3 separate regions of the Homo sapiens genome follow, and all the other regions are linked to region 1. The links are contacts of gene promoters, found by promoter capture Hi-C in blood cells and fetal thymus (Javierre and others, 2016). All regions are on one chromosome and are shown on one strand. The core of a region is centred on a gene start or on the middle of the fragment in contact, and the rest is flanking DNA. Distances in the headings are between cores, read along the strand shown. Region 1 holds the start of RAB11FIP4 (RAB11 family interacting protein 4). Region 2 overlaps NF1 (neurofibromin 1). Region 3 overlaps NF1 (neurofibromin 1).

Evidence for each region. Contacts are between HindIII fragments. The CHiCAGO score rates a contact against its expected background, and 5 or more counts as called.
Region 2: a fragment that was not itself captured here is called in contact with the fragment with the promoter of RAB11FIP4 in region 1 in 1 of 17 cell types (M1 macrophages); the score reaches 5.3 in M1 macrophages.
Region 3: a contact is called between a fragment that was not itself captured here and the fragment with the promoter of RAB11FIP4 in region 1, in 1 of 17 cell types (neutrophils). The highest score is 5.5, in neutrophils.

The regions. Positions count from the first base shown.
Region 1 is chr17:31,390,009-31,394,514 of GRCh38, forward strand. It overlaps RAB11FIP4 (RAB11 family interacting protein 4), which reads left to right and starts at 1,667. Exons shown (of 15, transcript NM_032932.6): 1 at 1,667-2,003. The coding sequence starts at 1,845. RefSeq lists an enhancer at 882-1,471. The HindIII fragment of the contact is 11,828 bases long and covers 1-4,506 here.
Region 2 is chr17:31,236,192-31,241,047 of GRCh38, forward strand. All of the region lies in intron 29 of NF1 (neurofibromin 1), which reads left to right. Among named protein-coding and RNA genes, the nearest start is that of OMG, 59 kb to the right of the region's middle. The HindIII fragment of the contact is 1,320 bases long and covers 591-1,910 here.
Region 3 is chr17:31,206,654-31,211,637 of GRCh38, forward strand. The region is part of intron 12 of NF1 (neurofibromin 1); the gene reads left to right. Among named protein-coding and RNA genes, the nearest start is that of OMG, 88 kb to the right of the region's middle. The HindIII fragment of the contact is 4,191 bases long and covers 1-3,360 here.

The DNA of each region.
Region 1 (4,506 bases), core at 417-2,916:
CTCCTCAATCCTCAGAACCACAGGTCTCTCTTCCCAAGAGGTGTTGCCTTTCGTGGCTCTCAGACGAACTGAAGGGTCAAAGGAGAGTAGCTAAAAGCCAGGTTCATCCCAGGAGCCGGGGCTGGAAAGAAGAGGTCCCCGCCCACTGTCAGAAGGCAAATGGCAGTCCCTGCGCAGGATATATTCAGGGTTGAGCAGGAAGACCACAGAGGTACAAACCGAGGCCCAGCTAGGGGAGGCCATGCAGTTCACCCCGTACTCCCTGTCTGCGCCACTACGTTGCTCCCGGCTCCTCACATAATGGGCGGGCCCATCCCCTCTGGGTGGGGCTTCCTCTGGGCCCACTCTTGCCTGGAGATCAGGGACTTGAAGGTAATTAAGACATATCTTGCCCTGGAGGGCTTCCCAGCATGGTAGGGGAAATGGGCATCCCACTAGAGAATTAAGAATTAACTGGGCACCTGGAAGAAGGGCTTAGAACTCAGAATAGAAGATAAGATGGCGTGCCATCAGAGAAGCCTTCCCGGAGGAGGAAACCTCTGTGCTGAGCATGACAGCATAGGTGGGAGTAGACTCAGCCAAGGCCTTTTTTTGGGTTGGGGCCAGTCGTTGCCACAAAGACCTGATGTGCCGAGCAAGAAGGTGGAGAGAAGAGCCCGGCCGGGTCCTGCAGGGCCCCGAGGCTGGGCTGGGAAGTTAGCACAAGCTGGGGTGGAGGCTCCGCTGAGCACTAATGGGAGGAGGCCAGGGTCCTGACCTAGAGCCTGCGGCCAGCGGGACAGAGATTCTGTCCTGGATTCTCTGAGCTTGGGGCATGCGGGCTGCCAGGGAGGTGTGATGGTGGGAACCCGGCGAAAGGGAGGAAGCCTCTTCCAGGCGTGGAGCAGCCTTGGGCCCTGAACAGGCAGGCCTCTGGAAGCGCCTCGCTTTTCCTCCCTCCGGCCTCATCCTGGTTTTCTCCTCATCTCCCCGTCGCAGGGTCCCGGGTCCAGGCTGGGGTTCAGTTGCCTGCTCCTCCTCTCTGTGCCCTCCCCCGCCCGATGGCCCCACAAGTGCTGTCTTGCAGGAGAGCGCCGGGAGACCGCAGGGCGGAGGTGAAGAACGGAGTCCAGAGCCCTCCAGAGATGGCAGCGAATCCCGGCCCTGCCTCTTGCCAGCTGTGTGGCCTAGAGTGAGTCCGACCTCTCTGGGCCTCAGCTTCCTCCGGGATGAATGCAGTCACGGAACGCGCCAATGCAGGAGGCCCCCAGGACATCCTGAGCGCTCGGGAGACGCCAGGCGCGGCAGCGGGCACGGATAGCGGAAAGGGGCGCGACCCCGCGGAATCCTCCGGCAGGGCAGGGCCTTTGGGTGGCTCCGGGTGTCCAGAGGAAGGGGTGGGCTCGGGGACGCGGAGGGAAACTGGGGACGCGGAGGGAAACTGAGGTCGCGGAGGACGCGGCCGTTGGCAGCTCGCTGCGCCTGCCGGCCCCGCGTGGGCCGCCCCACTCGGGAGGACGCGGGCTCCTTTTGTCTGCAGCGTCCCCGCCGCCGCCGCCCCCGCCGCCTCCCCCTCTCCCTCCCATTTTCGCCGCGGCCCCCGCCCCTCCCCTCCCCGCCCCCTATTGCCCCTCCTCCTTCCCCTCCCCACTCTTCTCCTTCCCTCCCCTCCCCTCCCTTCCCCTCCGGAGCGGCTGGGGCTGCGGCGCCGCTGCTGACACGGATCGGCCGCGGCCGCCACCGGGCGGAGGCTGCGCGGCGCAGACCCAGACGGGCGGCCCCGGAGGGCGCGCGGCGATGGCGGCGGCGGGCAGGCGGCGGGCGCGGCGGGCGAGGGGTCCGGGCTGAGCTGCGGGCCGGCCCGGATGGCGGGCGGCGCGGGCTGGTCGGGCGCCCCCGCGGCTCTGCTGCGCTCCGTGCGCCGCCTGCGCGAGGTGTTCGAGGTGTGCGGCCGCGACCCCGACGGCTTCCTGCGCGTGGAGCGCGTCGCGGCGCTCGGACTGCGCTTCGGCCAGGGCGAGGAGGTAAGCTGGCCCGACCCCAGTCCCGGCCCGGGGACCCCAGCCCAGCCCCGCCGCCCCTCCCCCAGCTCCCCCGCCGGGTCACCCGCGTGGCCCGAGGCGGTGGCCTCCCTCCCAATCCCCTCCCTCCGCCGGAGCCCAGGACCTCGGCCCCCCCCGGGTATCCCTGGCCCAGCCGGGCCCTCGCTTTCCGCCCCCCGGCGCCCGTGCCCCGAGCGTCACGCGTCACGCCTAGGGTGGCTTCTGCGCCCACCTTCCTTCCTCGGCCATGCAGGTCCTTCTGAGCGGTCTGCACATCCACCCTTGTCTGGGGGAGAGAGCTGCCAGAATCCGGCCCTAGGCTCCCCACCCCACCCGGCGCTGCGGAGACCAAGATGCAAGGGTCTGTGTACGTCCTGCTGGGCCGGGCCAGGGGGTGAAAGGGACCGGTAGGGGTGCTCTGCAGCCTTGGCTCCTCGGCTGCACACACCCTGCCCAGACACGGAAGGAGGTGTCTGCTGGGGCCACCGTGTACTCCCGGGCCAGTGTCGGGTGACCTCTCATTCAGGCTCTGCTGGGCAGCCAGGCTGGCAGCTGGCTGTGTTGGTTGCAGCAGGCCAGGCAAAGCCAGGCTCGGGGAGTGGTGGCTGAGCAGAGGGCTTTCATGTGGCGGGGCCGCATCTATTTGGGGAAAGCAGGACTTACGTAGATTGTTAACAGGGCTGGAAGCGGAGGGTCGGTGCCGCCAGTAGGGTGGACGGAGTCATATCACTAAACGCACACTACACCAGTGTCCTCTGGTGCCACCGGCATGGGGACTGGGGACTGTGTCTCAAGGGGAGGACAAGACACCCACCTGGCTGAAATGGTCAGGGGTTTCCCCTGGAGCCAAAAGCCCTGAGAAGTGGGTTTCCAAGGCCATCTAAGGCCTCAGGCCCTGCATGGGGGGCCTGGGGCCATGGGCCTCAAATGGGCACTGGCTGGCATTGTGTTCCCAGAACAGGTCGGACCAGGCATTTCAGAACATGGGAGAAGCTGGGTGATGGCCAGGTTGGGCCCGTGCCTCTGCGTCACCAGAGAGTGGGAGGCGATTGAGAATCATCTCTCCACCCGCACCTGGGCATGGGCCGGGACTTGTGAGTCGCTGAGAGCTGTGGGCAGAAGAGAGTGAGGCAGCTTCAGGGCTTGAGAACTCAGGTACCCACCACAGGAAAGACCACTGCAGTGCCTGTGAGAGCCCAGACTGCCCTCTGCGGGGCTTTGCTGAGGGACACTGCCTGCTGCCACCATGACCCTTCTTCCCCAAAGGCCAGCCAAGCCCTTCCGTTTTTCCAGTGGCTCCCATCTGGGGCAGGCTGAGCAGACTCCTGGCATGGGGATAGTCGCGCTCCTTCCTCTCAGAACACAGACTGCAGGTCGGGTAAAGAAGCTACCAGCTCTGGCTGAAACCTGGAGTCCCCGAACTCAGAGCCTCAGTAGTGGGAAGGGCCTCCCAACAACCTCTGGCAGGGGCCACCGGCCTCAGCCACGTGCCCAGCAAGCCTCACCCACTTCTCCCCCAGCTGGACAGTTCCTGCCATTAGAACCTTCTCCCTCATACACTCTAGAGACAGACCTGCTTGTCACTTAGTCATCACCGTTCTGCACGGGGACTCACATAGGTCTCTCTTCTTTGGGGGAGCCTTTAAATATTTGAAAATAGCACTCCTGCCCCTTCTCTCCTTCCCAGCTCCATACTCCCATTTTCCCTTCTCCAGGCCAAATACCCCAGTTCCTGAAGCCCTAGGCCATTTCCATGTGACCCAGTAGCCAGACCTCTGGCTTCTGGCCTTGGAGCTGCCATCGACTAATTCTGTGATTCAGTTTTCCTAGCAATAACATGAAAGGGCTGGACAAGCAGACCGCCCCCCGCCGCCCCCACCAGGACTATATTAGCCCCAAGACCTCACACATATGCACACAGCTTAGGGTGGGGCTGCCTCTGAATGGGGCACTGCACTCTGCTTATATTAAGTTTCTGGCCACCGAAACCTCCAGGGATCTGTTTTAGAAACCTCTGCCAAGCCAGGGATTCTCCACCCTTCGGGGAGGGTCAGTGATTTTTTTCTTTTAAAAGCATACTCTGAGATTACTACAGAAGCGGTGGATATGCATTGCAGAAAACTGGAAATAGGGACAAGCAAAATAAAAAGTATTGTGTCCTATCTCTCAGGCAGCGCCTCAATGACACTTCTGTCAGACCTTTCCAGAGCTGTTTCCATGCTTATATGTCAATTTTCTCCAGAAAATGAGATCATACTGTGCATACTGTTTTGTAACCTGATTTTTTTTGCCGGTAAATGATCATGACTTTTCTGCTTCAATAAATTTTCATCTGGTTTAATATGCAGACCTTTTTCAGATTTCCCTATTTGACCCCAAAATGTCCATTTTTGCTGTTTCCTCTCCAGGACTGTGCAGTGTATGTGGTTGTTGTCACCTTTTAGTCTCTCTTACTGTACACAATTCCTTTTTCTTTTCTTTTCTT
Region 2 (4,856 bases), core at 1-2,500, 150 kb before region 1:
TTTTTTAAGGTATCCTTTTATTTGCCTTAGATCCAGGGACAAACTAGAGAAAGGTGTCTTTGACTTCCACCTCCAGAGACTGTTACTAGTTAAGTCTGTTCCCCTGTCCTTTTTCCATGCATTTACATATTCATATGCAGTCACTTGCATGCATACTCTTTTTCTAACTCACTTCTTCTATGATGAGGAGTGACTTAGGAGAAGGGAAAGAGGCTAATAGGTAATGCAGGCTGCAGTTTATTTATTTGTCATTTTTTTAAAAATTTGAGACAGAGTCTCACTCTGCCATTCAGGCTGGGGTGCACTGGCGCAGTCTCGGCTCACTGCAACCTCTGCCTCCCAGGTTCGTGTGATTCTCCTGCCTCAGCCTCCTGAGTAGCTGGGATTACAGGTGTGCGCCACCACGCCCAGGTAATTTTTTTTTTTTTTTTGTATTTTTAATAGAGATGGTGTTTCACCATCTTGGCCAGGCTGGTCTCAAACTCCTGACCTCAGGTGATCCGCCTGCCCTGGCCTCCAAAAATACTGGGATTACAGGTGTGAGCCACCATGCCCAGCCCAGAGTGCAGTTTAAACCACCATTTCTGTGAAGCTTTCTCTGCTTGTTACCAGGTACTACCCACGAACAAAGAAATATGCTTTGTTCTGTGCTGTGCACCACCATTGTAACAATTGTGACGATTTATGAGTTTCTCTCTCCTCTAGACTGTTTGCTCTTTTACATTTTTACATCTTTATATCCTTCCATGAATATTTAGCATGGTGTCTGCCTTATAGTGAACATTTTATAAATATTTGTTAAGTGAATGAATTTTAACGGAATATCTTATGCTTGCTTTTTCTAAGCCACATGTTAAGATGTTCTTGTCTGTCTTTCAGTTAGGACTTTATTTTTTACTTTTAAGTTCAGAGCTTCTTGATGATTGTTCTTCCTAAATAATCATTATTTAGCAACTGTGTATCAGTTGATATTTTTGGCTCTGCATTTGCTGAAGTATCAACTGTAATATCTATTCAGAACTCCAGCACTAAGCCAATTTTTGTTAAAATAGTTAAAAACTTAAAAGCAATTTTTATATTTTTATTTACTTCTTATTTTTTGAAATGGGGTCTCACTCTGTCACCCAGGCTGGAGTGCGGTGGCACCATCTCGGCTCACTGCAACCTTCCTGTGCAGGACTCAAGCGATTCTCCCATCTCAGCCTCCCAAGTAGCTGGGATTACAGGCATGCACCACCATGCAAAATACAAAATTTTTGTATTTTGGTAGAGACGAGGTTTTGCCTTGTTGCCCAGGCTGGTCTCAAACTCCTAGACTAAAGAGATCCACATGCTGTGGCCTCCCAAAGTGCTGGGATTACAGATGTGAGCCACCACGCCTGGCCAAAGCAATGTTTTGTAAAGCCTTGTATTTTCTTGCCATTAAGCACTTTCAGTTTTTTTCTTGACAACTTCTCATGTCTACTTTTTTTTTTTTTTTTTGCAATTTTCAAGTGTACATAATACATTATTACGGATTTTATGTTAATTTTGTGCCCTACAATTTTACTGAATCTTATTATTAAGCAATTTTACTTTCTAAAGGTTAAAGAATTACTTAGAGAGTGAACCAGCTGCTTCAAATAAGTTTACTATACAAAGTGCTGTGGTCCAGATAAGAGAACTAGATGGCAAACAATATACTCAGGTTGCTTAAAATCAAACTGAGGCCCACTCTGACATGTCAAGAGCTTGAAAGTCAACACTCCTGTGTTCACAACATGAAAAAAGCTAAAAAACTGAAAATCAGCAGCTCTTAGATCCATCAGAGAATTTAAGTCCACTCCAAAAACTGGAGAGACAGGTAAATGTATACAGAGAATCACAGTTTACCAGGAGAAGAAGCTGCTGGAGCCAGTAACTGGTAGGAAAGCTTAGATCATAATTGACGAGTTGCTGGAGGCTGAGCATGGAGTGCCTAGAGAGTTAAAACTCCTAGGGGCCTAGTCTTGCAGGGACCCCTGCACCTTTGTAAGTTTTACCTCCAGAAGCCTCATCAGGCTCTCATGGTGAAGATAGGAGAAAAATCCCTTTATGCTTTGGGCAGGGGAAGGGGAAAAGTAGCCATTTTTAAATATGACCACAGTGTTCTGTTATCCCTAGCAAAGGTTTGCCCTCAGGAGAAATTACTTTACCAGAGCTTTATTTGACTTAGAAGTTAGCCACCTCCAGCCCCCTCTAGCGTTTCTGTAAGAAGAGAGAAAAGGCTAAGAAACTCTTTGAGTCTGGCCTGGTGGCTCACATCTGTAATCCCAGCACTTTGGGAGGCTGAGGTGGGCAGATCACGAAGTCAGGAGATCGAGACCATACTGTCTAACATGGTGAAACCCTGTCTTTACTAAAAATACAAAAAATTAGCTGGGTGTGGTGGCACGTGCCTGTAGTCCCAGCTACCAGGAGGCTGAGGCAGGAGAATCGCTTGAACCCAGGAGGTGGAGGTTGCAGTGAGCTGAGATTTGCACCACTGCACTCCAGCCTGGGCGACAGAGCGAGACTCTGTCTAAAAAAAAAAAAAAAAGAAACTCTTTGAAGGTCACACTTTAAGGAATTTGGCCCAATAAAACAATGGAGATATAATCAGATTGTAGAGTACTTCCCTTCCCCAGTATCCCAGTTAACGGGGAAACCCAGGGACAACAAAAGAGACAGAAATAAGAGCACTAGAGGAAATGGGCGCCTACAGTTACAGCGAACATTAAACATAACCTAACTTCTAGGCAGATTAACAGAATGCCTCACACTAAAGTCCAATTTACCTCAGTTCCTATGACCCAATACATCTTGTCTGGCTTTCAACAAAACATTACAATGCATGCTAACAAAAAATGAAAAATTAGTCTGAGGAGACAAAGCAAGCATCAGAATCAGACTCAGATGTGGCAAGATGTATTGGAACTTTGAAATTGTCAAACTGAGAGTTTAAAATAACTAATATGCTAAGGGCTTTCATGGAAAATGGACAGTGTGTAAGAACAGATGGGTAATGTAAGCAGAGACATGGAAATTAAGAAAGAATCAAAAGAGAAGGCTAGAGAAAAAAGCTGTAACAGGGAGAATTCCTTTAGTGGGCTTATCAGTAGTCTGGGCACCACTGAAGAAAGAATTGGTGAATTTGTAGTTATATCAAGAGAAACTTCCCAAACTGAAATGCAAAGACAAACAGAAGAATAAATGAAAATGAAAATACATCAAAATTTGTGGGGTTTAATAAAAGCAGTTGCTTAGCAGTGTTAAATGTATGTTAGAAAAGAAAATCTAAAATGAATTATCTGAGCTCTCACCTTAGAAAACTAGACAAAGAGCAATACCTAAAGCAAGATGGGGGGAGGAATCAGAAATCAATGAAATTAAAAATAGGAAAAAAATAATGAAACGCAAAGCTAGATCTTTTTATTTTTTAATTTTTATTTTTTTGTGGGTACATAGTAGGTGTTTATATTTATGGGGTACATGAAATATTTTGATACAGACATGGAATGTGTAGTAATCACTTCAGGGTAAATGGGGTGTCCATCACCTCAAGCATTGATCCTTTCTTTTTTCTTTTTTGAGACAGAGTTTCACTCTTGTCGCCCAGGCTGGAATGCAGTGGTGCTATCTTGGCTCACTGCAACCTCCGCCTCCCATGTTCAAGCAATTCTCCTTGCCTCAGCCTCCCGAGTAGCTGGGATTACAGGTGCCCACCACCATGCCTGGCTAATTTTTGTATTTTTAGTAGAGACAGGGTTTCACAATATTGGCCAGGCTAGTCTTGACCTCCTGACTTCAGGCGAGCCGCCTGTCTTGGCCTCCCAAAGTGCTGTGATTACAGGCGTCAGCCACCGTGCCCGGCCTATCGTTTCTTTATGTTACATACAATCCAATTATACTCTTTTAGTGATTTTTAAATGTACAATAAGTTCTTGTTGACTGTAGTCACCTTGTGCTATCAGATAACCAGATCTCATTTATATTCTTTTGTACACATTAACCATCCCCGGTCTCCCCTTCCCCACCCCCCACTACACTTCCCAGCCTCTGGGTAACTATCATTCTACTCTCTATCTCCATGAGTTCAATTGTTTTAATTTTTTTAGCTTCCACAAATAAGAGAGCGCACGATGTTGTATTTCTTTGCCTGGCTTATTTCACTTAACATCATAACCTTCAGTTCCATCCGTGTTGTTGCAAATGACAGGAATCTCATGTTTTGTGTCTGAATAGTACTCCGTTGTGTATATGTACCACAGTTTCTTTATCCATTCTTCTGTGGACAGACACTTAGGTTGCTTCCAAATGTAGGCTATTGTGAATAGTGCTGCAACAAACATGGGAGTGCCGATATGTCTTCAATATACTGATTTCCTTTTGTTTCAGTATATACCTAGTAGTGAGATTTCTGGATCATATAGTAGTTTTATTTTTAGTTTTTTGAGGAACCTCCAAATGGTCCTCCATAGTATTATACTAATTTACATTCCTGCCAATAGTGTATGAGGGTTCCCTTTTCTCACTTTTCTCCTTGTCACCATTTGTTATTGCCCGTCTTTTGGATAAAAGCAACTTTAGGGTGATGTGATATCTCATTGTAGTTTTGATTTGCATTTCTCTGATAATCAGTGATGTTGAGCACCTTTTCATGTACCTGTTTGCCATGTGTATTTTGTTTGTGTGTTTGTTTGTTTTGAGACACAGTCTTGCTCTGTCACACAGGTTGGAGTGTAGTGGCGTGATCTTGGCTCACTGCAACCTCTGCCTCCTGGGTTCAAGTGATTCTCCTGCCACAGCCTCCTGAGTAGCTGGGATTACAGGTGCCTGCCACGATGCCCAGCTGATTT
Region 3 (4,984 bases), core at 15-2,514, 180 kb before region 1:
TTTCTCCTTAAAACTTTTGAACAAAAATATTTTGATTAGCCTCTCACGTTTTGGGGATGAGTAAGGGAAGCTGACTCCTGGGTTAGAGTGAATGTTGCTGCCAATGCACATTTTAGCTAATTGAATGGTGACTATTAAACATAGGAAATGAATAAAATTTAGAGTTTTTGTATTTAAAATAAAAATATTTTGTATTTCAACAAATATGCCTTGAGGTTTTACAACTGATAGGAACTTTGATACTGACATTTGACTCTAAACTTAATAAAAAGCAGACTTAAAATTGGGTATTCTCACAGATTATTACTCTTAATATGGAATTTTAAAACTCCTATGGAATCAATTTAAAAAGATAATTATAAGATTGTGGAAGTCATTTTTTTGGTGTTTATGTATAGCAAGAGTATTATACAAGAGCAACTCTTGACATTGATTGGTGGTGCTTTGTCTTCTGCTTCTTATTTTCTATTATTGGCTGCTGTCGCTCACATGATCAGATGCCAACCAGTCACTGTTTTGCATGGCAGTGGGCTTCTGTGGCTGTAAGTATGACCCATTGTAACTACATCAGAAAAGTCCTTGGTTTCTTTGACTTTTCTGTGTATAGTTACCATTATAGTCACATCTTGTCATTTCAACTGAAAATATAGCATGTCTTCACCTGTTGGTTTTATCTAGTAAGTTAGTCATTTCACAGTTAGGAGATAATTTAAACAGCTTTCTCCCTGGCATGCTTCTCTTTTTCCAAGTCCCCTTAGTCAGTGAAATATTTTGGTTTTATACAGTTGTGGTTCACTCTTATCCAGTTGTCAGTAATTATTTCTGAGGATTGTTTATCTTAGATGTTCAAATAGAGAAGTTTTTTATGTCATATATTTTGGGATTATTGAGCCTAAAAAATATAGCCAAAAGATCATGGCAATGATGTTTCCTTAAGTAAACTTTAAAATGCAAGGTTACCTTTTAGTTGACTTTTTGTAATGCCAAGTACTTCACTTTTTTTTAAGTTGAAGAAATTTTCAGTACAGGTATAAGTTAATTGGAGGTAAGCATAAATAATAGCTGTTTAAATGTCATTTAATAAGATATTTTTAAAAAATCTTTTAAAACTACTTGAAATAAGTTGTTTAAAAGTTATTTATTGACCTGTTTATTCCAGAGATCTGGGAAATCAGAAGTTTATTTGACTTTTTTGCTTTAAGTTTACTACCTTTTCTGGTAGAAAGTTAATGACCTCCAATAATAGGACTTGTTGGGGGGTTAATATTCACTTCCTATTTAACTTCAATATCCACTTTACCAGCTGCCCATAATTTTCTGTGAATAAGGACTAAAAATGAAACTAAATGATTATTTTGAACAGAGGTAAAATTTGATTGGTAGTCTAAATATGTTCTCTACACTTAGAAGTTATTTTACTTCTTAGCCCTAGTTATAAGCTGATTCTCAGAGCTACATATTATTTTACCGAAAAGCCATAACTAGAGAGGATTTCCTCTTTTGGCTCAAGGACACCTGTAATAAGAATTTAGTTTTTATTTCTAATTATTTTCTGAAAATATCAATATACATTTAATTTTCAAAATCATTCCTAAGCTGTTTATGTTTTTGAAATGTTATATGTATGTATATTTGTACATAATGACTAAAGGACAGCTTTTGGGCTGATATTACCAGGAGAGAAAATAAATAGCAAATGTAATATGAAACAATTTTTAGAATAAGAAAATTTTAGGTTTTGAATGGCTGTTAGGGTAAAATCTCACCCTTCATAAACTTGGTGAGTTAACAGTCAGATAACCAGTATGGAAGTATTGACCTTCTACTCTTTGCCAGGCAAAGGTGCTAATGCCAGGGAAGCATGGTGAACTAAACATACACAGCACTTCCCCTCACCGAGATTCCAAGCAAAAGGTTTATAGCTTTTGCTTGAAAATGTCTAATGAAGAACTCAACACCGGACACGGTGGCTAACGTCTGTAATCCCAGCACTTTGGGAGGCCAAGGTGTGCGGATCACCTGAGGTCAGGAGGTCGAGACCAGCCTGGCCAACATGGTGATACCCTATATCTACTAAAAATACAAAAATTAGCCAGGCGTGGTGGTGCATCCCTGTAATTCCAGCTACTCAGGAGGCTGAGGCAGAAGAATCGCTTGAACCTGGGAGGCAGAGGTTGCAGTGAACTGAGATGGCGCCATTGCACCCCAGTGTGGACAACAAGAGCGAGAATCGGTCTCAAAAAAAAAATCAAACAAAAAAACTCACTACAGGTGGCATGGAGTCTGGCAACACAGGCAAATATATATAATAAATGGTTTACAGATAATACCTAACATCAGAGTTTCCTACTGTTGGCACTATTAACATTTTGGACTGGATAACTCTGTTATAGGGGGCTGTACTGCGCATTGTGGGATATTCAGCAGCATCTCTGGCCTCTACCCACTAGATGCCAATATTCCCTTTACCCCCCAGCCCTCCAAGTCATGAAAACCAAACATGTCTCCAAACATTTCCAGATGCCCCTTGGGGGACAAAATCACCCCCAGTTGAGAACTACTGTATTACAGAGTATGTTCAGTGGGTTGTCCCTCATTTGTATTGCCTCAAATGATTTGGGACTGATAAACCTGAGCCATTAGCTTGCTTCAGAAGTAGCAATCTAGGAGTTCTGTTGCAAAACAGTAAAAGTAAAATAATATCTGCTTCAAGGCTTTACTAACACTTTGTATTTTGGAGAGACAAGTTACTTGTTGGAAGGAGCTAATTATTTGAAAATTTTCTCTTCGACCAAGATAGAATCATGTCTCTGTCACTTACAGCCATCACTGATCCTCTTTCTGTTGGAGCTCTATAGAATACTTCTGATTCTTCCACAAGGTGGCCCTGCAGATATTTGAATAAGGTTATTCTGTACTCCTAGAATTCGTTTTATTTTTATATCGTTTTGGCATTGGAAGGGATTTTATTCTTTTAGCTCTCTCTCTTTTTTTTTCTTCTTGAGACAGAGTCCCACTCCGAGTCCCACTCTGTCACCCAGGCTGGAGTGAGTGCAGTGATGCAATCTTGGCTCACTCCAACCTCTACCTTCCAGGTTCAAGTGATCTCCTGCTTTAGCCTCCCGACTAGCTGGGGTTACAGGTGCCCACCATCATGCCAGCTAATTTTGTGTTTTTAGTAGACCATTTAGCACCATTTTGGGCAGGCTACTCTTGAACTGTGACCTCAGGTGATCCACCTGCCTCAGTCTCCCAAAATGCAGGGCTTATAGGCATGAGCCACTGTGCCTGGCCTCTTTTAGCTCTCTTTAAAACTGTATGTGTGTTTGTTGGGTCTGTTTTTATAGCTAAAGAAACTGAAGCTTAAATAAAGTTATATTAATAACAAATGCATGGTTAATGAACAGTCAACCAGAGTTAGTTCTGAGGTTTCTTGACATTCAGTTCAGTGTCTTTATCAGGTTCTTTAGTTGTCCTTCTTCACTAGCAAGTTAGCTTGATGAAAGCAGTAGCTTTGTCTGGCTTAATCAACACTGAATCCCTAACGTTTGAACAACATCTGATACATATTGGGCATTTAGTACATGTTTGCAGAATGAATGAAGGAATGAATTTCTTACTTGATGTGGTTTCAAAATCCTCGTACAGGCCGGGCACAGTGGCTCATGCCTATAATACCAGCACTTAGGGAGGCCGGGGCGGGCAGGTCACTTGAGACCAGGAGTTTGAGACCAACTGGGCCAACATGGTGAAACCTTGTCTCTACTAAAAATGCAAAAAAATTAGGCAGGCGTGGTGGCAGGCACTTGTAGTTATAGCTACTCAGGAGGCTGAGGCAGGAGAATTGCTTGAACCCGGGAGGCGGAGGTTGCAGTGAGCCAAGATTGTGTCACTGCACTGTCAGCCTGGGCAACGGAGCGAGACTCTGTCTCAAAGAAACAAAAACAAAAAACAAAAAACCCTCCTGTTTCTGATTTGCTTCTCTTCTGGAAAGACCAACCTGACAAAAATTTTTAAAATTAAAATGCCATATTAAGATCTGATGTTAGTGATACAGATATAATACTATGATGTAATAATTGATAAAAGCTATTAAACTGCTGTGTTTGTATACCCTGTTTCTATTAATACAATCTAAGATAGTATTATTATTTTATGTTGACTTTTTAGTTATTTAAACTCTTTGGCCCTTTTTATATGAATGTTGAGCCATAACTTCTCCTTTGTACCTTTGTAGTATTTTTTTAATATTTGAAATGTTTGTCTTAGCACTGATTTTACTATTTGCAAACTAACATCTCCTGCTTTCATAAAATTCAAAACTGCCAATAACAGATATATGAATTTTCACAAGTATTTGTTATTTCTCAACATTTTTTATCTTAAGTGGCATGCTGGCTCACCAGATCTTTCTTACATGCCTGTTATTCAGTCACATGGTCTAAATTAACAAGTGGTTTGGGCCTTTAATAGATATCTGAAGACTCTGGTTCATGAATTTCTTCCCAGACATGATTGCCTCTCATCTTTGGCCAGATCACATGTACCAGCTTCTATTCCTACTAATACCTGCAATATAGAAGATCAACTAATGAATGAATGAATTTTTTTCTTACATTTCTAATTAAGAAACACATTGCTTCTTTAGCATGTTTTTCCTCACTTTCTGTAACCCACTAAAATTAAAAGGTATTTGAGATGAATTAAATTTATTGGAATTTCTGAAGTCATACATTTCATATTAGGCAACCATGTTGGAACAGAATTTACATGTTGATATTTGGGATTAAGAGGTGACATAATTAAACTAATATAGTCATACATCACTTAATGACAGGGACATGTCTTGAGAAATGAGTGCATCCTTAGTGATTCAGTCATTGTGCAAACATCATAGAGTCTGCTTACATGAACCTAGATGGTTATATAGCCTGCTACATACCTAGGATATATGGTCTAGCCTACTGCTCCTAGGCTGCAAACC